Linked DNA regions of Homo sapiens: region 1 is linked to region 2. Evidence: promoter capture Hi-C in human tissues and cell types (Jung and others, 2019). All regions are on one chromosome and are shown on one strand. Each heading gives the region's core, a stretch centred on a gene start or on the middle of the fragment in contact. The rest is flanking DNA. Distances are from core to core; before and after follow the strand shown.

Region 1 (7,115 bases), core at 3,628-6,127, 210 kb after region 2:
TGTAGTCTCAGCTACTCAGGAGGCTGAGGCAGGAGAATCGCTTGAACCTGGAAAGTGGAGGTTGCAGTAAGCCGAGATCCTGCCACTGCACTCCAGCCTGGGTGACAGAGCAACACTCCGTCTCAAAAAAATAAAAATAAAAAAAAAGTTTCTGGATAAAGAAAGTAAATAAAAAACCCATGCTCAAACTTGAAATAAGGCTTAACAGTTCGGATAGACAAGGTAACTGTAGCATGTTTGTATTATTCAACATCCTACTTGACAGGTAAGGATTTGTACCCGTGTAACTGAAAAGAGATGGCATGCAATAAAACCTAATATACAGACTACAACGAAAGTTCTACCACTCAGCTCTGACAAAAACACCAGACATAAATATGAATTTGTATATTCAGTTGCTTTACCTCTAAAGTAATCCAAGCAGAGGTAATATGAAAAATAGAAATAGTTCTTATGCTGGACACTGTGGCTGATGTGTGTAACCCCAGCACTTTGGGAGGATGAGGTGGGAGGATCCCTTGAACCCAGGAATTCAAGACCAGCCTAGGCAAGACAGCAAGACCCCATCTCTACAAAAAAACAAAAAAAATTAGCTAGGCATGGTGGCACATGCTTGTACTCCCAGCTACTTGGGAGGCTGAAGCAGAAACATCGTTTGAGCCCAGGGGTTCAAGACCAGACTGGGCAACATAGAGGGGTCCCATCTTTTCAAAAAGAAAAAAAAGAAAGAAAAAAAATTAGCTAGGCATAAAGATGCATGTCTGCAGTTCACGGCTGCAGTGAGCCATGACTGTGCCACTGCACTTCAGCCTGGGTGACAGAGTGAGACCTTGTCTGAAATATGTATATATACACATATATATGCATACATATAATATTTTAATTAAAAAATTAAAAATTAGATGGGCATGGTAGTATGTGCCTGTACTCCCAACTACTTGAGAGGCTGAAGTGGGAAGATGGCTTGAGCCCAGGAGTTCAAGGCTGCGTGAGCTATGATCATGCCACTGCACTCCAGCGTAGGTGACAGAGCAAGCAAGACTGTCTCAGAAAATAGTTCTCATTACACACTAAAACTGTCCTTTTAATTCGTCCTTTATGACAGGAGTGATATTTTACTTACTCTGTCACACTAATGACTAAAAGAGAAGGCCTTGGGAATTTTAACTAACTCCCTGATAGATATGACGCAAACTAACAAATTTACAATAGACAAATTCTGTACAATACAGTCATGTGCAGTATAATGACATTTTGGTCAATGAGGGACCTCATATTTGACAGTGGTCCCATAAGATTATAACACCAGGCCAGGCATGGTGGCTCATGCCCGTAATCCCAGCACTTTGGGAGGCTGAGGCTGGTGGATCACGATGTCAGGAGATCAAGACCATCCTGGCTAACACGATGAAACCCTGTCTCTACTAAAAATACAAAAAAATTAGCTGGGCATGGTGGCGGGTGCCTGTAGTCCCAGCTACTCGGGAGGCTGAGGCAGAAGAATGGCATGAACCCAGAAGGCGGAACTTGCAGTGAGCTGAGATTGTGCCACTGCACTCCAGCCTGGGCAACAGAGCGAGACTCTGTCTCAAAAAAAAAAAAAGGATTGTAACACCTATTTTGACTATATCTTTTCTATGTTTAGATATGTTTAGTTGCACAAATATTTACCACTGTTACAGCTGCCTACCACAGCCACATACTGTATGGGTTTTTAGCCTAGGAGCAATGGGCTACACCATACAGCCTAGGTGTGCAGTAGGTTATACTTCCTAGGTTTGTGTAAATGTACTCCCTGATGCCCCCACAACGAAATCACTTAACGATGCATTCCTCAAAACACATCCTCAACGTTCAGCATAACACACACACAACTGCATTAGGTGGATGCTTTAAACTAAGAAGTGCGACTGCGATGTCCACTACAAGCATGGCAGGGAGCTGCAGAAGAACTGAGCTAGGCAGCACCAGGGGGAACCTGGGAGATGACCAACTCTCAGCCACCACTTGGTTTGTAGACCTGGTAGGGCAGCTAGGTCTTCGCCTCCAAAAAAAAGACAGGCAAATTTTCCCGAGAAATCTGGCCAGCCCCAGGCCAGGCGCAGTGGCTCCCGCCTGTAGTCCCAGCACTTTGGGAGGCCGAGGCGGGCGGATCACCTGAGGTCGGGAGTTCGAGACCAGCCTAGCAAACATGGAGAAACCCCGACTCTACTACAAATACAAAATTAGCCAGGTGTGGTGGCACATGCCTGTAACCCCAGTTACTTGAGAGGCTGAGGCAGGAGAATCACTTGAACCCAGGAGGCGGAGGTTGCAGTGAGCCAAGATCACCCCATTGCACTCCAGCCTGGGCAACAAGAAAGAAACTCAAAGAAAAAGAAAGAAAGAGAGAGAGAAAGAAAAGAAAAGGAAAAGAACAGAATAGAACAGAAAAGAACAGAACTAAAGAAAGAAATCTGGCCAGCCCCAAAAGAGTAACATCCATCCATTCCTCAAATGTTTACTGAGCCTCTACTTTATTCAAGGCACTGTTCTAAAGGTAGAACTTGACCCCCCAAAAAAATTGTCCTAAGAAAATTAAAATATTTTGGTGACAAGAGAATATTCTTTTTCTTCTCTTCTCTTTTCTTTTTAAGTAGAGACAGGGTCTCACTATGTTGCCCAGAATGGTCTCAAAGTCCTGGGCTCAAGTGATCCTCCTACCTCGGCCTCCCAAAGTACTGGGATTATAGGCGTGAGCTACCACACCCAGTCCCAGAGAATATTCTCTATACTTCCAGAGAGGGAGGAAAAAAAACAGGTCATGCAGGCCGGGCGCGGTGGCTCACGCCTTAGTCCAAGCACTTCGGGAGGCTGAAGCGGGTGGATCAGGAGGTCAGGAGTTCAAGACCAGTCTGGCCAATATGATGAAAGCCCATCTCTACTAAAAACACAAAAAAATTAGCCGGGTGTGGTGGCGGGAGCCTGTAATCCCAGCTACTCGGGAAGCTGAGGCAGAGAATTGCTTGAACTCGGGAGGCGGAGGTTGCAGTGAGCCGAGATCACGCCACTGCACTCCAGCCTGGGCGACAAAGCGAGATTCCATCTCAAAAAAAAAAAGTCACGTAGAAAGAATCGAGAATAACTTTAGGCTTTTTTTTTTTTTTTTTTTGAGACAGAGTCTCGCTCTGTTGCCCAGGCTGATGTGCAGTGGTGCAATCACGGCTCACTGCAAGCTCCGCCTCCCAGGTTCAGGCCATTCTCCTGCCTCATCCTCCCTGGTAGCTGAGACCACAGGCGCCCGCAACCACACCCAGCTAATTTTTTGTATTTTTAGTAGAGATGGGGTTTCACCATGTTACCCAGGATGGTCTCGATCTCCTGACCTCGTGATCTGCCTGCCTCGGCCTCTCAAAGTGCTGGGATTACAGGCGTGAGCCACCGTGCCCAGCCAACTTTAGGTTTCTTAACAGCCACATTGGAAGCAAAAGGAAATTAAACAAATGCCTTCGGGCCAGGCAACCTCCACCTTCTGCGCTCAAGTGATTCTCCTGACTCAGCCTCCCGAGTAGCTGGGATTACAGGCATGCACCACCACGCCAGGCTAATTTTTGTATTTTTAGTAGAGACGGAGTTTCACCATATTGGCCAGGCTGGTCTGGAACTCTTGACCTCAAGTGATCTGCCTGCCTTGGCCTTCCAAAGTGTTGGGATTACAGGCGTGAGCCACCATGCCCGGTCAACCAATGTATTTCTTAAATGTATCTGATTGATGTCTCATGCCTCTCTAAAATGTATAAAACCAAGCTGTGCCCCGACCACCTTGGGCACATGTTCTCAGGACTTCCTGAGGGCTGTGTCACGGGCCATGGTCACTCATATTTGGCTCAGAATAAATCTTTTCAAATATTTTACAGGGTTTGAATCTTTTCATAACAATTCTATCAAGGGCACGTGCCAACATGATTTACACCTAATACATCAGCCTCGACCACCTGGCTCAGGTAGCATTTGCAGGTTTAGCCACTGTAAGATTATCACCACCACCTCCACACACAGTCATCCCATTCCATACTCTTAGGAAGCAAGTCACTAAGTGCAGCCCACACTCCAAGGAGATGGGGAAAGTTATAGAGGACCCTCTGGAAGATGGAAGAATCTACCATTATTTGGAATTCTTCTCTAAGGGAGATCAGTCTATTCTTTGTCTCTTTCCTCATTTATTAATGTAATTATTTATATCAATATGGACTTACAGATATTTGTTTTATACTTTAGGTGATAAGTAAAATACTAATTGTTAAAAATACATTCTTGGCTGGGCATGGAGGCTCATGCCTGTAATCCCAACACTTTGGGAGGCCATGGTGGGTGGATTACCTGAGGTCAGGAGTTGGAGACCAACCTGACCAAAATGGTGAAACCCCGTCTCTACTAAAAATACAAAAAAATTAGCCGGGCGTGGTGGTGTGCGCCTGTTGTCCCAGCAACTCAGGAGGCTGAGACAGGAGAATTGCCTTGAACCTGGGAGGTGGAGGTTGCAGTGAGCCGAGATCACGCCACTGCACTCCAGCCTGGGCAACAGAGTGAGACTCCGTCTCAAAAAAAAAAAAAAAACCAAAAAACCAAAAAACTACATTATTTATTTTATTGTTCAAGTTGTTCCAGCTTTTGTCAATGGGAGCTCTTTCAGTTGGTTCCTGTGTCCCTTCTTCATGTTCCCATCCCTTTGTTTTTTAGCATATCCTTACATTCAAACACTAGAAGAAGCTTCAGGCTCATCTTATATTTTCCCTGCCCCAGCCCTAGAATCACCCATTACTCCAAAGAGTTCTGATTTGTTTTGGTACAATGGAATCAGAATCCAAAACTGGGAGCCAGTAGTCTTTCTCCTAAAAACTCATAACCCTGACTTAACCATGGGAAAAATATCAAGACAAACCCAAATTTAAGGACATTGTACAAAATACCTTGCCCATATGTCTCAAAACTATCAAGGTTATTGCAATGGAATCAATGTGTGCCCCCCACCCCAATTCACATGTTAAAATTCTAATGCCTAGAGTAATGCTTTTAGGAGGTGGGGCCTTTGGGAGGTGATTAGGCCATGAGGGGACCCCTCACGGTGGGATTAGTGCCTTTAAAAAAGGGAACCCAGGGGCTGAGCAGTGGCTCATGCCTGTAATCCCAGCACTCTGGGAGGCCGAGGTGGGTGAATCACCTGAAATCAGGAGTTCGAGACCAGCCTAGTCAATATGGTGAAACCCCGTCTCTACTAAAAATACAAAATTAGCCGGGCATGGTGGTGCATGCCTGTAATCCCAGCTACTCAGGAGGCTGAGGCAGGAGAATAGCTTGAACCCAGCAGGCAGAGGTTGCAGTGAGCTGAGATCATGCCACTGCACTCCAGCCTGGGCGATGGAGTGAGACTCTGTCTCAAAAAAATAAAAAATAAAGGGAACCTAGGCAGAGTATAGTGGCTGATACCTATAATCCCAACACTTTGGGATGCCAAGGCAGGCAGATAGCTTGAGCTCAGGTGTTCAAGACCAGTCTGGGCAACATGGTAAAACCCCATCTCTACAAAAAATACAAAAATTATCTGGGTGTTGTAGTGTGCACCTGTAGTCCCAGCTACTTGGGAGGATGAATTGAGCCTGGGAGGCTGAGGTGGAGGTGGGAGGATGAAGTGCACCCAGGAGGCGGAGGCTGCAGTGAGCCAAGATTGTGCCACTGCACTCCAGCTTGGGCAACAGAGACAGACTCTGTCTCAAAAAAATAATTATTATTAAATTTTTTTTAAAAAGGGAACTCTCTCACACTCTTTTCACCATGTGAGAATACATCTAGAAGTCGGTAGCATGCAACCAGAAAGAGGGTCTGCACCAGAATCTGACCATGCTGGCACCCTGATCCCAGACTTCCAGCCTCCAGGACTGTGGCTTGTGTTGTTCGTGAGTCACTAGCCTGTGGTACTTTGTTACAGCCTCGCAAGCTAAGACAGTCCTCTAATGCAAGGAAAGTCTAAGAAAACAGCCACAGAGCAGGAGGCATGATGACTAAATGTGATATGGTATCTTGGATGGGATCCTGAGGTACAACAAGGACAAGGGAAAAACCAGTGATACCAAATAAAGTGGAGTTCAGTTAATAATAATGTACCAGGCTGGGCACAGTGACTCACACCTGTGATCCCAACACTGGGAGGCCGAGGCAGGTGGATCACTTAAGGGCAGGAGTTCGAGACCAGCATGGCCAACATGGCAAAACCCCATCTCTACTAAAAGTACAAAAATTAGCCAGGCATAGTAGCGCATGCCTGTAATTCCAGCTACTAGGGAGGCTGAGGCAGGAGAATTGCTGGAACCCAGAAGGCAGAGGTTGCAGTGAGCCATGGAGCCACTGCACTCCAGCCTGGGTGACCTAGCAAAACTTTGTCTCAAAAGAAAAAAAAAATAATAGTAATAATAATAGTAAGGTACCAATGTTGGTTCCTTGGTTGTCACAAATGTATCACAGTAATGTAGGATATTAACATTAGGGGAAATTGGATGCAAAGTATGTGGGAACTCTCTGTACTATCTTTGCAACTTTTCTGTAAATCTGTAACTATTCTAAAATTAAAAGTTTATTTTCAAATCTACACATAAATACAAAATACATATATAACTTGATAAAAACAAAACCAAAAAAGTATACATACAATATGTATATTAAGAATTCACAGGGCCGGGCGCGGTGGCTCACGCCTGTAATCCCAGCACTTTGGGAGGCCGAGGCGGGCAGATCACAAGGTCAGGAGATCGAGACCATCCTGGTTAACACGGTGAAACCCCATCTCTACCAAAAATACAAAAAATTAGCCAGGCGTGGTGGCGGGCGCCTGTGGTCCCAGCTACTCAGGAGGCTGAGGCAGGAGAATGGCGTGAACCCGGGAGGTGACGCTTGCAGTGAGCAGAGATCGCGCCACTGCACTCCAGCCTGGGCGACAGCGCGAGACTCTGTCTCAAAAAAAAAAGAATTCACAGGCCAGGGGCAGTGGCTCATGCCTGTAATCCCAGAATTTTGGGAGGCCAAGGTGGGTCGATCACCTGAAGTCAGGAGATCGAGACCAGCCTGGTCAACATGGTGAAACC
Region 2 (6,984 bases), core at 831-3,330:
GGAGGTGATGGGCCGATGCCTGGAGGTGGCAGGCTGGGTGGAGAGGAGGATGGGGACCAGCGGGAAGGACTTGAGGGGGAGCTGACCAGCCTGCCTCAAATGGACCCTTACCTGGAGGATATAGGATGCTTTGGTGTGAGGCACGGTAGCTGCCACTGTCTGTGCCCACAGGTCCTGCAGGCAAGAGGGGAGCCCTTGTGCCAATGCTTCCCTTCCTGGAAGAGCAGGCTCATTTGGATCACCTTACCCCGGGGGGCACCTCTCTGAAGAGCCTTGGCAAAACCTGTCCTTTGTCAGGCTTCGTGGGCCAGAAGTACCCCTTCGTGACTCAGGGACATCAGCTGTCAAAGCTGGGGAAACCAAGGCCCAGAGAAGGAGTGCAAGTTGCCTAAGGCCCCACAGGAGGTCAGAAGCAGAGCAGCTAGAATTAGAACTTAAGTATGTCTCTGACTTTCAGCCTAGGATCACTCATTATCTAGAGCCTCCTCTTCTCTCCAAACTCTGCTCCCAGAAGAGGGGTGTCATTAGCCATTCATGCCCAGGTGTGGATAGGTTTAAAAATCCCAGGGACGTCTGTACACTAAGCCTCCTTGCTAATCACGGCCCAACTACAGAATGCTATTTATGGAACAGCTACCACGTGCCACAAATTGTGCTGGGCGCTTTCCATCCCTCGCATCCGAAAAAGCCTCTTGACACGAGGCAGGCACTATTATCCCTACACTCTCCCATCACAGAGACAAGCACACTACGATGCAGAGAAGATGCGGCTTGTTTAGGATCCCAGGCGAGGGTGTGGCGGAGGCGGTGCTGAACCAAGTCTGTCTAACTGGAAAGTCCACACTCGCAAACACGAGCCCCCGTGGCCTCTGAGGGACAGGGGTGGCTCCCCAGGAATGGGCTGGTGGGAGCTCCCTGGCCTCCTCCCTTGCTCTGCCCCCACTCTGCAGCAGCCAGAAGCCTCTCCGAGAACCAGACAGGCTCCAGACTGACCCTGACCTCGCGGCGGCCTTCTCCACTGGGCCGGCGCTTCCCAGGGCGGCTTACGCCTTCTGTGTCTGGGGCCATCCGCAGACCTTGCCTTCTGATGCCCGTGGGAGTTCGGTGCTGCCGCGGGGAGCACCTCAGTCCCCCTGTCTGCTCTCCGCCGCGGTCCGGGCGAATGGCACCATGTGGGGGGCCCCGAGCGGGTGCCTACCCCCCTGGCAGCCTTTACTGAGGGTCTGCTCAGGGCCCTGCCCAGGGCTCTGTCACTCCGGCGCTCAGGCCCGAGGGGGCGGCGCCTCTGGAGACGGGACTGCAGGGAGAGACCCAGGCCCTGGAGACGAGGACCGGACCCTCCCCGGGGACGCTGGAGCTGGACCTCGAGGGATGCTGGCGCAGGTGGGCACAGGTGGCACAGGTGGGCGCGGGGTTCTAGGCGGGAGATCGCTCGGGCGAAGGCCAAGGCTCGGGAGCTGGTGCGGGGGGCGCGGCCCCGAGAGCCGCGGAAGACGCCGGTGGGGGAGAAGCAGGTGCCAGCCAAGGGCGTCGGGCCGGGGCTGGTTCCGAGCGCGCGGCCTCGGGTCACATGCTCGCTCCGGGGGCCCCCCGCGCCCCTCCCACTGGCCTCTGGGCCGCAGCCCCACGGCGCGCCGGCAGCCGGGGGTCAGGCCGCGGTCAGAGTGCGGGCGCGCGCCGTCGCCGCAGGGACGCTCCCGGCCCACAGTCGGCCCCCGGGAGCCCGGGTTCGAGTCCCGGCCCTGCCGTGATCCGCTGCGGGACCCGGGCCGGCCCTTCCCTGTCGGGCCTCAGTCCTCCCACCGTCCGCGGTCTTCCCTAGTCGGGGCTCACGCAAGGGCGGGGGAGGCCACCGGTGCCCACTGCGCGTCCGCCCCTCCCCCGCCGCCGGGAGCGCGGACGCGCACGCACCTGGCCGCCGCTGAGAGCGAGGGTAGCGGGCGGAGCCGGGAAGCCCCGCCCCTCTCCCCGCCCCCGCTCCCACCGGGCCAATCAGAGGGGGCTACGGGACCCGTGCGGGGCGTCGCGCTGGGGGCGGGGCCTGCGGGGGCTGAAGAGCGAGCCGGGCGGGCGGGCCGCAGGCTGTCGGGCTGGGGCTGAGGCTGAGGCTGAGGTTGAGGCGGCGGCGGCGGCGGCCGGGTGCCCGGGACAGCGACGCAGCGCGCCGGCGGCCGCGACAGGGCCAGCGAGAGCCCCGCAGCCCGCCGCAGCTGCCGCCTCGCCGCGGCCGGGCCGGAGAGCACGGCGGCGGGAGCGCGGCCTTAGGAGGCGGCCGGAGCGGTGGGCACAGCTCGGCGCGGAGCGTCCTGTCAGGCGGCGGCCGAGGGCGTCGCGGACTCTCCCCGCGATGATGCCGGTGGGTGAGGGCGGGCGGGAGGTGGCGGCGGCTTCCTCCGCGGGCCGCTGGCCAAACCTCCTTCCTCCCGCGGCTCCCAGCCCCCGCGGGCCGGTGCGAGGCCGGGCGGGCGGGGAAGGAAGTGGCTGGGCGGGCGCGCCCGGCCGCGGCGCCCCCCAGGCGGGCAGGTGGGGGCGGCGCCGGGCTGTCAGCGCGGGGCCGGGGCCGCCTGCGGGCCCTTCCTGCTCGGCCTCCGCGGCCGCGGGGAGAAGCAGATGCATTTGGGGCCGGTCATCTCCTCGGTCCTCTCAGGTGCGCGGTCGGACGCTGGGGCACAGGTCTGGTGGGTGGCGCAGCTGTGACCCGCCTGAAACGAACGTTCTGGGGTCGCCCTGGGAGTCGGCGGGGTGGGCACCCGCGCCCGGAGTTCCCACACTCTGCAGGCGCATTCCCGTAGCCTTCGCGGTTGTACTGAGGAAAGGTGCCGAGTGCACGGATTTGGAGAGCCATCTTAGGAATTCCCTTTTCCCGTATCTGCAATGTTGGTTCGTTTTGCTTTAACTGGTTTGTTCTCCGTGTTCTGAAGGTTGAACGAGGTTCGTTTGTAGTGGTGGTGTCTTTGTCCTGCCCTTAAGGATGCTTTCGCCTAGAAAGACATTGGCCATTAGATTTGCCATCGTCCTACCGACCCTTCCCTTTACCTATAATCTGAATAGGAGGGGATGCTGAATTCTGATTTTTAAAAATTGGCTTTTTGGGAGGTAAGCATCATGACTTATGAAAAAATGTGGGACTGGTTGTACCCAGTTGGAGAGGTATTGGTTTTCTGAGCGCCTATATCGTAAGTAAAATTCTCAAACACGTTTATAGTAAAGTAACACAGTCATTTTTTTAACCTACAATACTACGTTGAAAATCACATTTCACAGGAAAGTGCAGTTTCCCTGCATTCTCTACTTGAATATTGCCATTCTGCTATGCTGCACCCAAGGACATTTAGATTAGATCCCCCTTCTTCCTCTTTGATTTCCTTTCTCTTGATAATCTCTTCTCCCCGTTTTTAACGGATTCCAGCATGTTTTGTAGCCGGCTTTCAGCGTTTTCCAAGTCTTAAGGTTTGATCTACTTGATCCTTAGGTCTTTCTTTAGCATCAGACTTGTTGGGTTTCTAAACATTTGGTTTTAAATGAATAATTGTCTTGTAATGGAAAGAGAATTGGATGAGCATCAGAAGATCTGGGGTGAAACGCTGGTTCTTCCACTTTTTAGCTATGTGACCTTGAAGAAGTCAAGGTCTTTGAGCCTGGAATTACCTCTAAAGTAGGGATAAAAATGTACCAATATCTGAGCGCTGTCCTGAGGATCAAATAGGATGATGTATCCAAAAGTGATGGTTGAACAGAATGTCATACAAATATTTATTATTCTTAATATGGCTTTGAATTTTCAATTTCTAACTTTATAAGATAAGGCATTTGGAAACTTCCCTCCCTAATTCTCACTAGCTAGATTTTGATGAAAGGCATTATGGTGTTTCAGAATTTTGAAAGTAGTTTTAGTTAAATCCTGTAATAGTTGATTGATGCATTCATACTGTGGTGGCATTGAAGGATATCTAGAAAAATTTTGGCTGGCTTCGTCGTTGTATAATGTTTAATTATAAATATCCTGCTAAGAAACTTGGCTTACATTTTCCATATGATTCATTCAGACATCTTACCTCTATTCCACGGGAGTAGAGTTTTGAGTTCCTACCTTCACAGGTTTCCTTTTTAAGAGGTTTGTTTAGCTGGGAATTGGGGCATTTCTTCGGATTTCTCAAAACAATAAAATACTGTTTTTTAAAAAAACAGGTCTATTACCTGTTTAAAACACCGCTTTTGTTTAAAAATGCCTTTTAGAAACAGATGGTATTTCTCTTAGACTCTCATGTATGGCTTTTACTTTTGTATTTCCTTTTTGATCCCTAAAAATACTACTTGTAGGACTGAGTCCTTCCTCTATTAACACAGTTGGAGTTGGTTGTAAATTTAGTAGGAGTTTTCAGAAATGCCATTCTTACTTGGTAATATTTTAAACTATCCAAAAATGTAAATAAGATTTTTCTCGATTTATTGTATATTTGGTATTCATCATGATGATGATGAATCAAAGGAACGTTGGGTCATATTTTGCAGTTTGTGTAGAGCAGTACTGTCCAATAAAAATGTAAAGCAAGCCACAAATGCAATTTTAAATTTTGTGGTAACTACATGAAACAAGTTGAAAAAGTACTAATTTTAGTAGTATCCTTTTATTAACTTAGCATATCCAAAATATTATTTTAACACGTATTCAATATGAAAAAACCACTAATGAGATATTATACATTTTTTCTGGTACTAAGTGTCTGAAATCTGGTGTGAATCCGGTGACAGTTTGCATTTTACAGCACACACCTCAGCTCAGACTAGCACATTTCCAGTGCTCAGTAGCTACATGTGCTTAGTGACTACCATATTGGACAACATAGGCTTAGAGTATATTTTATTTTATTTGAAAATTGGCAATTAGTATATAATGTCGTGGTAACTTTTTTCTTTTTTTCTTTTTTTGTGACAGAGTCTCACTCTGTTGCCCAGGCTGGAGTGCAACATGATCTTGACTCACCGCAACCTCCACCTCCCAGGTTCGAGAGATTCTCCTGCCCCAGCCTCCTGAGTAGCTGGGATTACAGGCACCCTCCATCCTGCCTGGCTAATTTTTGTATTTTTGTAGAAACAGGGTTTCACTATGTTGGGCAGGCTGACCTTGAACTCATGACCTCAGGTGATCTGCCCACCTTGGCCTCCTAAAGTGCTGGGATTACAGGCATGAGCCACTGCGCCCGGCCATGTGGTAACTTTTAATTAATCACATGGTGTACTACAGTGCCCAGTCTCTCAGCTGTTGAGAATAAATGAGAGTGAGTGGCCAAATTCTCATCTGACACAATCAAATCTCTGTAGAAGTCTTCTATTTGCTGTCGTACAAAGTGCTGTGACTTTCCACCTTCTTTTTTTTTTTATTTTTCGAGACAGGGTTTCACTCCTGTTGCCAAGGCTGGAGTGCAATGATACGATCTCAGCTTACGGCGACCTCCGCCTCCTAGGCTCAAGTGATTCTCATGCCACAGCCTCCCGAGTAGCTGGGACCACAGACACACGCCACGGCAAACGGCTAATTTTTGTATTTTTAGTAGAGACGGGGTTTCACCTTGTTGCTCAAGCTGGTCTCGAATTTCTGAGCTTGAGTGATCTGCCCGCCCCAGCCTCCCAAAGTGCTGGGATTACAGGTGTGAGCCACCCCTCTGCCCCTGCACCTGGCCTTTCCACTTTTTTTTTTTTTTTGAGACGGAGTCTTGCTCTGTCGCCACGCTGGAGTGCAGTGGCATGACCTCGGCTCACTGCAACCTCTGCCTCCTGGGTTCAAGTGATTCTTCTGCCTCAGCCTACCAAGTAGCTCAGACTACAGGCGTGCGCCGCCACGCCCAGCTAATTTTTGTATTTTTAGTAGAGATGGGGTTTCACCACGTTGGCCAGGATTGTCTTGATCTCTTGACCTTGTGATCTGCCTGCCTCAGCCTCCCAACGTGCTGGGATAACAGGCGTATGCCACTGCGCTCTGCCGTCCTTTCCACTTCTAAACTAAATTATATTTTGGAATTTTCCCTTATGAAAATAGTATTTTTTTGTTGTTGTTATTGGTAGTCACTCACCTTTTTATCAATGGATGACATTTTAAAAATGTTTTCCCAGGAAAAAATGGTACCATTTAAATAATACTTTTTGTTTAGTCCCTAAGATCTGGCCCTGAAAGCATTTACAAGTTTGATAGAAGTAAGAATTTTAGTAAAAATGGAAAGCCCAATTTAGATTATAGAAAGGATGAAAACTGCCTTGATTCAGCATGATTTATTTTTTTTTTTGAGACAGAGTCTCGCTCTGTCACCCAGGCTAGAGTGCAGTGGCAGGATCTCAGCTCACTGCAACCTCTGCCTCCTGGATTCAAGTGATTCTCGTGCCCCAGCCTCCACAGTAGCTGGGACTACATGTGCACACCACCATGCCTGGCTAATTTTTTCAAATTTTTGGTAGAGACAGGGTTTCACCATGTTGGCCAGGCTGGTCTCGAACTCCTGGCCTCCAGTTATCTGCCCACCTCAACTTCCCAAAGTGCTGGGATTACAGGCGTGAGCCACCGCACCTAGCTCAGCATCGTTTCTTTTTGAAAGAGTGTGGACGTTTTGTAGCTAGTAAAACTTTTCGTGCATAGATGAGATATATGTGGGGAATGTTGCTTAAGATACTTTTTTTGTTTGTTTTCAGACAAGATCTCACTCTGTTGCCCAGGCTGGAGTGCAGTGGCGCGATCTTGGCTCACTGCAACCTCCGCCTCCCGGGTTCAAGCAATTCTCCCACCATAGCCTCCCAAGGAGCTGGGATTACAGGGGCATGCCACCATGCCTGGCTAATTTTAGCATGTTTAGTAGAGGTGGAATTTCCCCATGTTTGGCCAGGCTGGTCTTGAACTCCTGACCTCAGGTGATCCACCTGCCTCAGCCTCCCAAAGTGGTGGGATTACAGGTGTGAGCCACCGAGCCCGGCCAGCATACTTTTTCTTTTCCAAAA

Evidence for each region. Contacts are between HindIII fragments. The study calls those that stand out against the background at their distance.
Region 1: a contact is called between a fragment that was not itself captured here and the fragment with the promoter of PPP1R13B in region 2, in 1 of the 25 tissues and cell types used here (heart right ventricle).

The regions. Positions count from the first base shown.
Region 1 is chr14:103,640,251-103,647,365 of GRCh38, reverse strand. The region is part of intron 1 of KLC1 (kinesin light chain 1); the gene reads right to left. Among named protein-coding and RNA genes, the nearest start is that of KLC1, 15 kb to the right of the region's middle. RefSeq lists a silencer at 3,145-3,194 and an enhancer at 6,875-7,115. The HindIII fragment of the contact is 7,416 bases long and covers 1,170-7,115 here.
Region 2 is chr14:103,842,671-103,849,654 of GRCh38, reverse strand. It overlaps PPP1R13B (protein phosphatase 1 regulatory subunit 13B), which reads left to right and starts at 2,080. Exons shown (of 17, transcript NM_015316.3): 1 at 2,080-2,356. The coding sequence starts at 2,348. It overlaps PPP1R13B-DT (PPP1R13B divergent transcript), which reads right to left and starts at 1,934. Exons shown (of 3, transcript NR_038436.1): 1 at 1,912-1,934. RefSeq lists silencers at 1,521-1,590, 1,611-1,740, 1,761-2,200, 2,371-2,570. The HindIII fragment of the contact is 22,900 bases long and covers 1-6,984 here.